2 separate regions of the Homo sapiens genome follow, and region 2 is linked to region 1. The links are contacts of gene promoters, found by promoter capture Hi-C in human tissues and cell types (Jung and others, 2019). All regions are on one chromosome and are shown on one strand. The core of a region is centred on a gene start or on the middle of the fragment in contact, and the rest is flanking DNA. Distances in the headings are between cores, read along the strand shown.

Region 1 (5,650 bases), core at 1,045-3,544:
GCCTCCTATTCCTCCTTAGGAAGGGGGAGCAGCCAGAGCAGACTGGAGCAGCTTGGTCAAGAGTTGGTCCAGAGCTTGGTCAAGAGTTGGGGGTCAATTGGCCAAAATAGTACAGAGCACTCTGGCCCAGAGTGAGGGTCCTAAGTGCCATCCTGCAGTGCCACCCAGCCTTGCAGCCCACTTAAACCCCCTCCCAGGCTGGGGGTCAGTCAGTGCAGGGCCTGCTCCACGCCCTCAATCCATCCTTTAATTCAATGCAGCCACTTAAGCTGCAGCCTGTGGTGAGGAGGGGATGCAGGCTCTCTGGCTGTGACTAGGTGGTTGAGATCTGCCCACAGCCAAGCCTAGGGCGCCTGGATGCTGGCTTTGTCTCCTGGCCAGAGAATGGCCCCTCTCTGTGCAGTGTGCCCTGCTTCCATGCTAGGGGATGCTAGCCTTGGACTGAAAGCTTTATTAGCTCACACCCCAACTTTCTGGGAAGGGGCCCAGGCAAGGCCCAAGAATATCACAGTCTGGCCTGCACAGAGTGAAGAAGGAGAAAAGGGGAGGAACCTGCCTTGGGAACTTGTCTCATTCTTGGCTCTGCTCTGAAGCTCCTGCTGGCCTCCCTCATACCAAGACCTGGGCCTGCCTTTCCTTCTTGCCCTTCTGGCTTCTCTCTAATAATGGCTTTGGGTTGGTCTTTGGAGCTAAGATAACTTTGCTCTTGAGCAAAAGGTTCTGGAAGAGGGAGTTGTCCTTTACATCCACCCCTGACCTGCTAAGGATGTTCCCTAGCTGAGGCAGGTCTACATTCTAAGGAACGATTAGTAGCCATGATGGCAAGACTGCTTTCCTGAGAGGAAAAGCCAGGCACCATGGCAGCAGATGATTACCGTGAGGGCCCAGTGAAAGGGGCCTGATCACGAAAGCTGAGAAAGTAGTGGCCACCCCTCTGGGCCCCAGGGACAGGGAAAAGAGAAGCAGCCATGACCTTTGGCTCTAGGTATTGGGATATTCTCAGGGCTGGTGGTCGGAGGTTGCCTTCTGCACGGAAGGTGCCTCCAGCTCCTTGCTAGGTGCCGCACTGAAGGAAAGGGGCCAGCATGACTGGTCGGCAGTCCAGATTTGCAAATAGGACTCCACGAGTTGTGGCACAGTTTGCTCTGCACGTTTTCTGCCCTGTGGACAGGGTCTCTAGGGTTCTCTCGAGAGACCAGAGAAGCCAATGAGGTTTGACCAGAGGCTCTACGACCCAGCAAAGCTAAGGCCCTAGCCTTGGCAGTCCGTACTCTGAAATAACTCAATCGGGAAACTCAGGGACTTGAAGGCCTGGAAGCCCAGGAATAACACCCTCTCGAGGGAGAGACAATGAGGAAGAAGCCATGGCCAAAGCCTAGCAGGGATGGAGGTGCCAGAGGGAACAGAAACAACCAAAATGATCCCAAGAAGTCAACAGTGGGAGGAGAGGGAAAGGCGCCAAGTCTTAGAATGTGTGTCTGTGGGTGCAGAAGAGGGGTGCTCTGCAGGAAATGCAGTTGAGGCGCTAAGAAGGAGAATGCTGGGAAGGTCCTGGCGAGAGACCGAGAAGCCTGGAGGGCTCAATTCACCACGAGTAGCTGTTTGGGGCTGAAGAGAGATTTGGGTCAATCTTTAGAGAAGACAGCCTCTAGGGAGAGTCTTTGGGAGGGTCCCCTCAAGGTAAAGGGACAGGACTGGGGTGAGGGCTGGATCCCAGCGCAGGAGGTGGAGTGTTTCTGGGTCTCAGGCAACACATTTGTGTTACGTTACATTCTCACAACAACCATGAGAGGGACTGCTATTGTCCCATTTCACAGATAAGAAGACCAAACCTTAGTGCTCTGAAGTCACTAATGCAAGGCCCCACTGCCCAGTCACTTGTGGAGCCAGTGAATTCACACCACCTGACTCCAAACCTGTACACTTTAAGAGCCCACTGACATCCTCTCCTTTCTCTGCCTTCCTCCACGACCCTCCTTTTCCGCCTGCCTTCTTGGTCTCTGCTGCGGGGGGCCAACCTGGACCTTGGGGTCCAGTGTCCTGCCATTAGTCATCTGATACCCGGGCACTAAGCCCAACCGGAGGGACAAAGCCCACACCGGCCACGGGGTGGAGGAGAGTCGATGTCGGATTTAGGGCGGGGCTGAACCAAGCCCAGGGCCGCGGGGGCCGTGGCTTCAGCACCGCGGAGAGCGCCATCTCCGGGGGCGGGGCTGGCGGGGTGGGGGCGGGGCCTGGGCGGGGCGCGCGAGACCCCGGCCGGGTCCCGGGGGCGCGCGCGGGGCGCTCTCGCCAGTCCCGCGGGCCGTGCGCGGTGCTGTGCCGCGCCCTGCCAGACACAGGTGCGCCCGCCTAGCCCGAACTCCGCGGCGGCGGCTGCCCTCTCGCCGCGCCTCCGCCTCCTTCGCAGCCGCCGCCTCCTCCGCGCCGCGCTCCGCCCGGATGGCCAGGGCTGTGCCCGAGAATGGCGGAGCGAGAAAGCGGCGGCCTGGGAGGGGGGGCCGCGTCCCCGCCCGCCGCCTCCCCGTTCCTGGGGCTGCACATCGCTTCGCCTCCCAATTTCAGGTGAGAGTCCCCGGCCGCCGCGCGCCTCGCCCTTCAGCGGGGACTGATCCGCATTGGCTGCCCTGCCCGCCCCCCACCCCAGAACCTCGGGAACCCGGGAACGAAAGGGCTGCGTGGGAGTGGGGTCTCTTCCCGGGACAGAGCCCCCCTCAGAAGCCCCGCCAGCCTCAAGTCCGGACTGGTAGCCGTTGCATGTTCACGAGGCTGTTCCCTCCGCCATTCCTGGTCCTAGGCTGGGAGGTCTGCGCTGGAATTGGAGGAGGGGGCTCGGAGGCCTCCTTCTCCCCAACCTCCGGGCTGCGGCAGGGTCTGGGGTCGGGGTTGCGATCCCGGAGCGGGCAGGCAGGCTGCATCTTAGCCTGTGAATAGAGCTGGGAACAGCCTGGAGGGGCGCGGGTCGCAGTTTCCTGGGGCAACGACATTGTTGGTGCTGGGAGGAGGATGTTTGAGCCCCTCCCCGAGCCCTGCCTGGCCAGATGGGCCTACCTGCCAGGCCTGGCGTGGCCGGGCCCCTCTCTGGATTGGGCAGCACCGACCTAGGCAGGTGTGTCTCTCAGGGCAGGCGCTGAAGGCTCAGCCTCAACCAGGGGAATCCTAGGCCCGGCTGCGGGAAGGGAAGTCGGCTCGGCTCTGGAGTAGCCAGGGCCAGCGAGGGTGTCGAGGGGATCCCTGCTGGGGTAAATACCCAGAACCCTGACCTGAGCTCCTATTCCACCACCCCCACCCCCCAATCTGGTGTTAGGCCCGATGCATTTCAGAGAAGTGAGGGGTGAGTGTTGTGTGGAGGAGGAATAGATGTACCTCCCCCATAATTCTGAACCCTAGTTGGTGGGGAGGAAGAGGCCGAAGTCACTGCTCCCGGCCTAGAGAGGGAGGCTTAGACATACCCCATTGTTTCCCCATCTCGAGAACTGGCGCCTTCCCCTCTCCTGGGGCACCACCCCAGCCAGGCTCCAGCTGGGCTGTGGTGCCAGCCCCTCCTGGGAGCAAGGGGTCACTGGCTCCCAGGTCCTCAGGTGGGCAGAGACCCCTGGGGATCTCTAATAGCATCATCAAACTCAGAAACCTTCCCTGAGGCCCTGAGCTGAGCTGGAAGGACCAGAGGGGGCCAGATGGAGGAGGCCAGGCCTGAAGGCTCCAGGGCTGCAGCTCTCTGATAATGCCTTAGACTGAGGTCTGAGACTCCACCTGGCATGGTGCATGAGGCCTCCATGCAAATACTGCCTCCCCACCTGGAGGCCTCTGCAGTGGAAGCACATGGGGCTTAGAGGGACCTGGGTTCAAATCCTAGCTCCACTACTTTCTAACTGCATGACCCAGGCAGGTTTTTGTCCTCTCTGGGTGCCATCTGTTAAGTGGGCTAATTAATATTGATTCTTGCCTGGAAAGGAGAAAAAGCACATCAGGTCAGTGTTCAACAAGTGTCAGCCCCCACACTAGCAGACAACACTACGGCTCGCTGCTGTCCAGAGTGTCTTCCCAAGGCCCCTCCTTTAACCCTCATAACTGCCCCAAGAGAGGGTAGTGACCTGCCCATTTTATAGATGAGGTGATTGAGATTAACAAAGGCAGGGTGGCTCATCTGGAGACTACAAAAGAGTCAGAGACTAAGGCTACACTGGGACCCAGGTCTGTGCGTGTTTAGTCCACTCTACGTCCCAGCCCTGCCTCTGGCCCAGTGGGCAGCTTTTCTTCCTCGACCTGCTTCCCCAGGTGTCATAGATGCTTTAATGAGAGGAGCTGAGGAAGCAGACACCAGCCAGTGAATGTGTGGCCAGCTCTGCGGCATGTGGGACAAGGGTGGCAGTAGGCCACGAGGCTGAGGTGTGGGCCAGCACTCCAGAACATGGTGGCCTGGCTGCGGAGACAAGGCCAGTGCGTGGGAATAATAAGCGTCAGTGTCTCAGGCCCTGCCGGCCTGCCCCGCTGCTCCCAAAGCCCCCGCTGCCCTTTCTCCTGGCCCGCCTCTCACTGTGCTTGGCCAGGCTCCACTTAACCCTGGGTGGGTAGATAGTGCTTTCTTGTGGCTCTTTGGTGGAGTCATAGATCCAACTGGCCTGGGTTTGAATCCTGGCTGGCCCTTCTTACCTGTGTGCCCTGACACTGGGCACTTAAGCCCTCTGAGCCTCTGAGATGCCAGCACTGGCCCCTGCTCAGGATGGTCCTAAGAATCAGATGAGATAACACGTGTTGAGTGTTTCAAGGGCTGAGGAGAGCCGCCTGTAGGCAGGGCTGTGTGTGTGCACACACACACAGGCGCCTTGACCCCCAGTGCCACTGTCAGCTCCCAGAAAATAAAGGGGGTCTGTACCCAAACTTTGGTATCCCCATTGCTCAGCACGGGATAGTTACTCAATAACAGTGGTAAGCGCTGACATTTGGAAGGCACTCAGTTCGCCCAGGCACCATTCTAAGAGTTTCCTATGTGCAAGAGTATTTACTCCTCCCAATAACTGTATCAACAGAGCGTTGTTATTATCCACACTTGCATGAAGAAACTGAGGCAGAGGGAGGTTAGGTAAGTGGCAGAGCTTGTAAGTGGCAGGCAGTCTGATGTCAGAGCCACCCCAAAAAGAAAGAGCCCTAGAGTATTGGAAGAGCATGTGCGGAGGGGGCGAGCATGTGGACCTGACCTGAAGGGGTGGGAGCATTCGTTTGTTTGTGGTAGGTTAAATACGTGTTAATTTTTGTTCTGATTATAGCTCCAGCTGTTTATAGTGGTTGGTTACCTTTGGGTATGGTATGGGGTGAGGGATTTTTACTTCTTATTTTACATACTTTTTTTTTTTGAGACAGAGTCTCACTCTGTCGCCCAGGCTGGAGGTTGGAGTGCAGTGGCATGATCTAAGCTCACTGCAACCTCTGTATTCTGGGTTCAAGCGGTTCTCCTGCCTCAGCTTCCCAAGTAGCTGGGATTACAGGTGCCCACCACCACGCCCGGCTAATTTTTGTATTTTTAGTAGAGACGGGGTTTCAACATGTTGGCCAGGCTGGTCTTGAACTCCTGACCTCAGGTGATCCACCCATCTCAGCCTCCCAAAGTGCTGGAATTACAGGCTCGAGCCACCACGCCCAGTGTCATACT
Region 2 (5,650 bases), core at 1,270-3,769, 350 kb after region 1:
TAACGGGGAAAAAAATGGTCACCAGATCTTTAGAAGGTTCACTTTTATTCTCTCTCTGAAAGAATTTTGTCTGTTAAAATTAAGCAGAGTGTATCCTTAGTCACCAAAATGATTGTTGTAGGAATACTGAAAGTCACTGCTTATTGAGCACCAACTATGTGCCAAGCACTGCTCTACTTAACGCATCCACTGTATCGGGTGATTCTCACCAACACCCTAGGAGGTCTTTATCATTCATTGTATAGGTAATATAACTGGGTTCAGAGATAGAAGATGGGATGAGGAGAAAGGTGAGGGAAAGAAGAGAAAGTTCAAAGGAAATTAATTAAAAAGTATTGGGTATATAAAATGTGCCAGATGTGTTGTGTTATAATAGGTGTTGGAGATACAAAGATGAATAAAATATCACTCTCAAGGAGTTGATAGCCTTGTGGGACATTGAGGGTGACAGCTGAAGAGGCAAACATATAATAATAATAATAATAATAATAATAATAATAATAATAATAATGTCAATACAATTCAGTCCAGAAGTATTTATTGAGTTTCTGGTATGTGTTAGACACTGCACTAGTTGCAGTGGATAGTTCCTCTTCTCTTGGTGCTTACCATCTAATAAGAAAGTCAAACATTCATCAAATAATTATACATGTTTAAAATTGCAATTGAGTGCAATAAAAGACACCAGATGGGCCACAGCCTGACAGAGGATTAGTACTCAGAATATATAAAGAACTCCTACTCATAGTAAGAGATAATCTAACAGAAGCACTGTCAAATAAACCAATGAGCAACTTAAAAATGAGGAAATGGCCAACAAACAAATGAAAGTGTGCTCAGTCTCACCTGTTAACAGGGAATTGCAAATTAAAACACTGAAAGGCCATTTCACACCCATCAGCTTGGCAAAAATTTTGAAGTCTGACAATACCAAATGTTGTTGAGGATGCCAAGCATGGGAACTTCCATATATTGCTATCAGACTGTGAATGGTACAACCACTTTGAAAAAACTTTTAGTCATGCTGAGTAAAGCTGCCAGTTCCTCTGCCTTGAATCCAGCAATTCTGCACCCAAGTGGCTACTGGAAGACTTACTTTCACACAAGGGGATGGGTATAAAAAATACTAATCACAATATTGTTTCTAACAGAAAAAAAATTAAAAATAAGTTGAATGTCCTTCAGAAGGACATTGGTAAATAAAGTATGGTGAACTCATATAATGGGACCCAAATAGGAAGTGAAAATTGCATAATCTAGAACTACGTGTATCCATGTGAACACATTTCAAGATTATCCTGCTGGGTGAAAAAAGCAAGTTGCACAATTATATACCCAGTATAATGGTATTTCTTCAGAGTTTAAAAACATACCAAACAATTCTGTAAAGTGCTTACAGGCACAAATATATGTAGCAAAAATACAAAAGTATGCATAGGAATGGTAAAACTCAAAGGCAGAAAGTGATTACCATAGGGGAGGGACAGAAATGAGTTCAGAAGACTAGATCTGTGAGGTTTTATGTCCTTTAAAAAAGATCTGAAGAAAATAGAGCAAATGTTAAGCTTTGACAAAGACGTGGCTAGGGGAGGGGAAGGCACACAGAATAGTGATTAATTATATTATTCGCTATAGTTTTTTGGTATGCTTTAAATTTTTTTGAATTGCACTTTGACCTATTAAAGGCGAATTCCACTGAGTTGGGGGTGGGTGGGTCAGGGAAGGCTTCTCAGACGAATTGAGTCTTACTTAAGATGACAGCTGAAAATTGAGTAGAAGAGGAAGGGCGGCAAGGTGTTTCAGGCAGAGAAGCCTGCGCTAAGAGGCTGGACTGGGAAGGTGAGGTAGGGGCCAGGGACTGAGACCCCCTGTGTGGCCAGAGCAGGGGAAGAAAGGAGCTGATGTTGAGGGGAGGGGAGGCGAAGGGGGTGTGCACAGACCATGCAGGACCCCACAGGCCATCCTGAAGGCTCAAGCCTCTCCCCTAAATATGACAAAATCAGCAGGCGGCCCAGGGACACTTCACTCGGCCAGATAGCGGAACAGGGAGGGCGTTCTTGAAAAGGTGACTCACATCTTGAGTTCTGGAGGATGAGTAAGAGGAAGCCGGTAGGGGGAGGGGGAGAAGGGAGGAAGGGGAAAATTCTCTGGATAGGGCCTAACTGCAGCAAAGACCTGAGGACCTTCAAGAGTGTGGCCCCAGCGGGCTCCAGCCTCCGAGCCTAGCTCGGGAGGCGTGGTGTAGAAAATGGCAGACTAGGGCATCCATGAAGACCGGGCGGCCCCAAGCCGAGAGGCATGGCAAAACAGGGGTTGCAGGTGGCTGTTCTGGCAGAGCGAGGAGGATGGATTTGAAGAAGACAGGCATGCAGGGGAGACCTTTGAGGGGAATGTGTCAACAGCCAAGGGGGGCGGGGCGCCGGGGAGGTCTGGATGAAGTGGGAATGAGGATGGAGTGCAGAGTGCCTGGAGAAGTGTTCAGGAGGGAAGGCGAGGCATCGGGACGAGGGGCTGGGCGGTCGCGCCATCTCTGCGATAGACAATAATCGGGTCAACACGCGGCGAGTGGCGGTGCGCGCGGGGCCAACCGCGTGGAGCTGTCGGGAGGGCGATAGGATGGGCGCGCCCGGGCTGCAGGCGGGGAGCCGGAGGTGGGAGGTGCCTCTTGAGAGTGGCTCTCCACCGCTGACAGCAAACGAGCTGGTCCGGACGGAGGACAGAGGGGGAAGAAACGGAGGGAGTCGCTGGGGGACGGCGACGAGTGGGATCCGGGCGGGTGGGACTGGGCGCAAAGGACCGCGCCGACGCCGCATGGCTGCCGGGAATTCAGCTCCCCCGGCCAGGTTGAGCGGGCCCCGGGGCCCGGAGCGGGCGTCGGCATCTCCGGCCTCCCCGCGGGGCTGCAGGCAGGCGGCGCCCCGAGCGCACCCCGCGCGAGCAGGCGCGGAACAGCGGACCCAGGCCGGGCCTTCCCGCAGCTTTTCTGGCCGCCTCGGAGGGCAGGGTCCCAGCGCGGCCCGAGGCGCCTCTTGCCAGCGGCCCGACCTCCTGCCCTCCCGGCCCCCTCCAGGCTCCCCGCACGTGCAGGCCCGGCGACGTCACTGCGGCTCTGACGCGCTCTTGGAGGCCCGGGCGGAGGCGGCGCGGCGCGGGCTTCCTCCGGGAGGTCCCGGTCCCGGCAGCCCGCGGCCGCGTCCTTGGCCCTCCTCCGGGGGAACCTCGTTCATTCCAAACTCTGGAAGGCCGGCTGTCCTTCGGTTACTGATAAGGACGCGAGCTCTTGGTAAAAGATTTGAACAATGCCCGGAAAGAAATAGCTGGACCTAAGAAACAGACTAATAATAGCTGCCAGCTAGAGCTCCACTCGTGTGCTCAGCGCCTTTAGGAACAATAATAACGACCACAGCCATAGTAGCCACCATTTATTGAGCGCTTACTCTGTGCCAGGTGCTGTGTTAAGCGCTTTGCAGGCAACAACCCTCGGAGGTAAGTACCATTATCATCCCTATTTTGCAGGAAACCCGGGCACAGAGAGGTTAAGTAACTTGCCCCAGGGCACACAGCTAGCTGATGTCAGTGCCAGAATTCCAACCGCGGCTGTCGGACCCCATGCCATCCTCATGTCAACCCACTAAGGACGGGATCCTTCTGTCCATCTTAAAGATGAGGCAACTAAGGCACATGGAAATTTAAGTATAATACCTTGCCCAAGGTCACCTAGCTGGAAAATGGACGAGACAGAAAGCGAACCCAGGGCTCCTTTCTGTACGCAGAACCCGCGGTCTTGGCCATAGGCGATGCCACTTCCGACAGCCCAGCAGGGTCTGGCCCTGGGTCCCAGAGGCGCAGCCCCTGCGGGGTTTGGATGGGTTCCTGCGGCCTCCGATCCGCTGGTGAATTGGGTGTGTCTGAGCATCGTCCCCGCTCAGCCCGCAGGCGTAGGATAGGGAGGCGTCTCCGGGAATCTACTCCGGGACGGGTCCGCGGTCCTCAGTCGGGATGGAGCGGGGGCGGAGGCAGCCGGAGGGAACTGGAGTCCCCATTGCAGAACTGCGGGGCCGGGCTCTGGGCTGGGCGCCTGCCCCGCGCGGCCGGCAGAGGGCGCTGCCGCACACGCCTTGGATCTCACTGTCACTGGGACCTCGGGGCAGGCTGACGTCGGCCTGCAGACGCCTGGACTCAGAACCCCGAAGCAAGAAGCTTCCCTTCCTGGTGGCTGCCATCCCTCAGGCCCACCATTTCAGCCCTGGACCTGCTTTCCCTGACCACTTTTCCCCATCTTCTGTGCTCCTGCCATCCCACCACTGGCCTTCAAGACTTCCCCAGTCCCTGCACAGCGGGTTTTGTCATCTGCTGAGAGGCGCGGACACTGATTCCCATCCCATTAAAAGGCCTAGATGTCTGCAAGTCAAATTCAGCCTTGCTTCCCCTTCTCGCCCTCTGGTGATTTAAAATAGGGATACATCATCTACTTGGAATAAATGACTAATTTTTCTCTTCTCCAAAATACGGTGGGTATGGGGAGGGTTGGTTAAGTAGGCGCACACAGATGAAAGGATCTATTTTCATAATAGCTACCGAGTACAGAGTGCTTCTTTTGCGCTGAGCCCTTTATGTGCTTTGACTCATTAATCCTCACTACAGCCCTAAGAGGTGTGGATGATGATTGCTGTTTGATGGATGAGGTCACAAGGCTGGTAAGTGGCAAAGCTGGGATTCTTCCCAGGAGTGTCTGACTTTAAAGCTATGTTCTCATCACCCAGAATGTACACGCTGAAACAACTGAACAGAAGAGGTAAGATGCAAATCATGAAAAACAAATCAAAATCTACGCTGAGAGTGCATAGAAATACCACATGTCATGGGAGGCTTGACCAGCTTGAGTCCCCAATGTGGGACTCAGATGTTGAACAGAAAAACAAAACCTAAAGGTGCAAGGAGAGAATAAGAATGAGGCTTTTGGCTTTAGCTTGGAAGAGCATCCGGAGAGGCCCACTCACTTTCTATGTCTGGGCTCTGAGAAAATAAAGGTGGTTCTAGGAAAATCTGAAAAGTATGGGAGAAAGAAAAAAAAAATCCCTTTTGTGGTTTTTCCTTTAACCAAGCCTCATTTTGCTATTTGTGTTTTATTTTAAAATTAATGTGGCTCTCCCCACCCTTTAAATTGGCACATAAATAGCAAAAACAGAAGGAAAGCCAGCTACAAACTTAAAATGTGGTGGGTTTCTCAGGAAGGAGGTACATGACTTGAAATGGAAATGAGGATTAAATGAGATGCCTTAAACATTTCAAAAACAGACTTTCCACAAGGAATTTAGATCATAAGCCCTTAGGGCAGAAGCTTTGTCTGGGTCTGGGCTTGGTATAGTGTCTAGAATCTGTGAGTGCCCAATGAATGTGTAAAACAAATCACCCTTTTAGTACATGCTTGCATCATCTGACCATCTGGGCTACCACGTTGCTTATGGTTTTATTTATTATTATTATTATTATTTATTTTTTGAGACGGAGTCTCACTCTTGTAGCCCAGGCTGGAGTGTAATGGCACAATCTTAACTCACTGCAACCTCTGCCTCCTGGGTTCAAGTGATTCTCCTGCCTCAGCCTCTCGAATAGGTGGGATTACAGGCACCTGCCACCACACCCGGCT

What was found. Contacts are between HindIII fragments. The study calls those that stand out against the background at their distance.
Region 2: a contact is called between a fragment that was not itself captured here and the fragment with the promoter of MAPK8IP1 in region 1, in 1 of the 25 tissues and cell types used here (IMR-90 fibroblasts).

Annotation. Positions count from the first base shown.
Region 1 is chr11:45,883,357-45,889,006 of GRCh38, forward strand. MAPK8IP1 (mitogen-activated protein kinase 8 interacting protein 1) reads left to right here and starts at 2,295. Exons shown (of 12, transcript NM_005456.4): 1 at 2,295-2,565. The coding sequence starts at 2,465. RefSeq lists a silencer at 2,157-2,556. The HindIII fragment of the contact is 16,221 bases long and covers 1-5,650 here.
Region 2 is chr11:46,235,223-46,240,872 of GRCh38, forward strand. LOC124902669 (translation initiation factor IF-2-like) reads left to right here and starts at 2,167. Exons shown (of 1, transcript XM_047427965.1): 1 at 2,167-4,507. The coding sequence starts at 2,617. The coding sequence ends at 3,327. RefSeq lists an enhancer at 2,032-2,081 and silencers at 2,667-2,716, 2,827-3,146, 3,973-4,182. The HindIII fragment of the contact is 4,501 bases long and covers 270-4,770 here.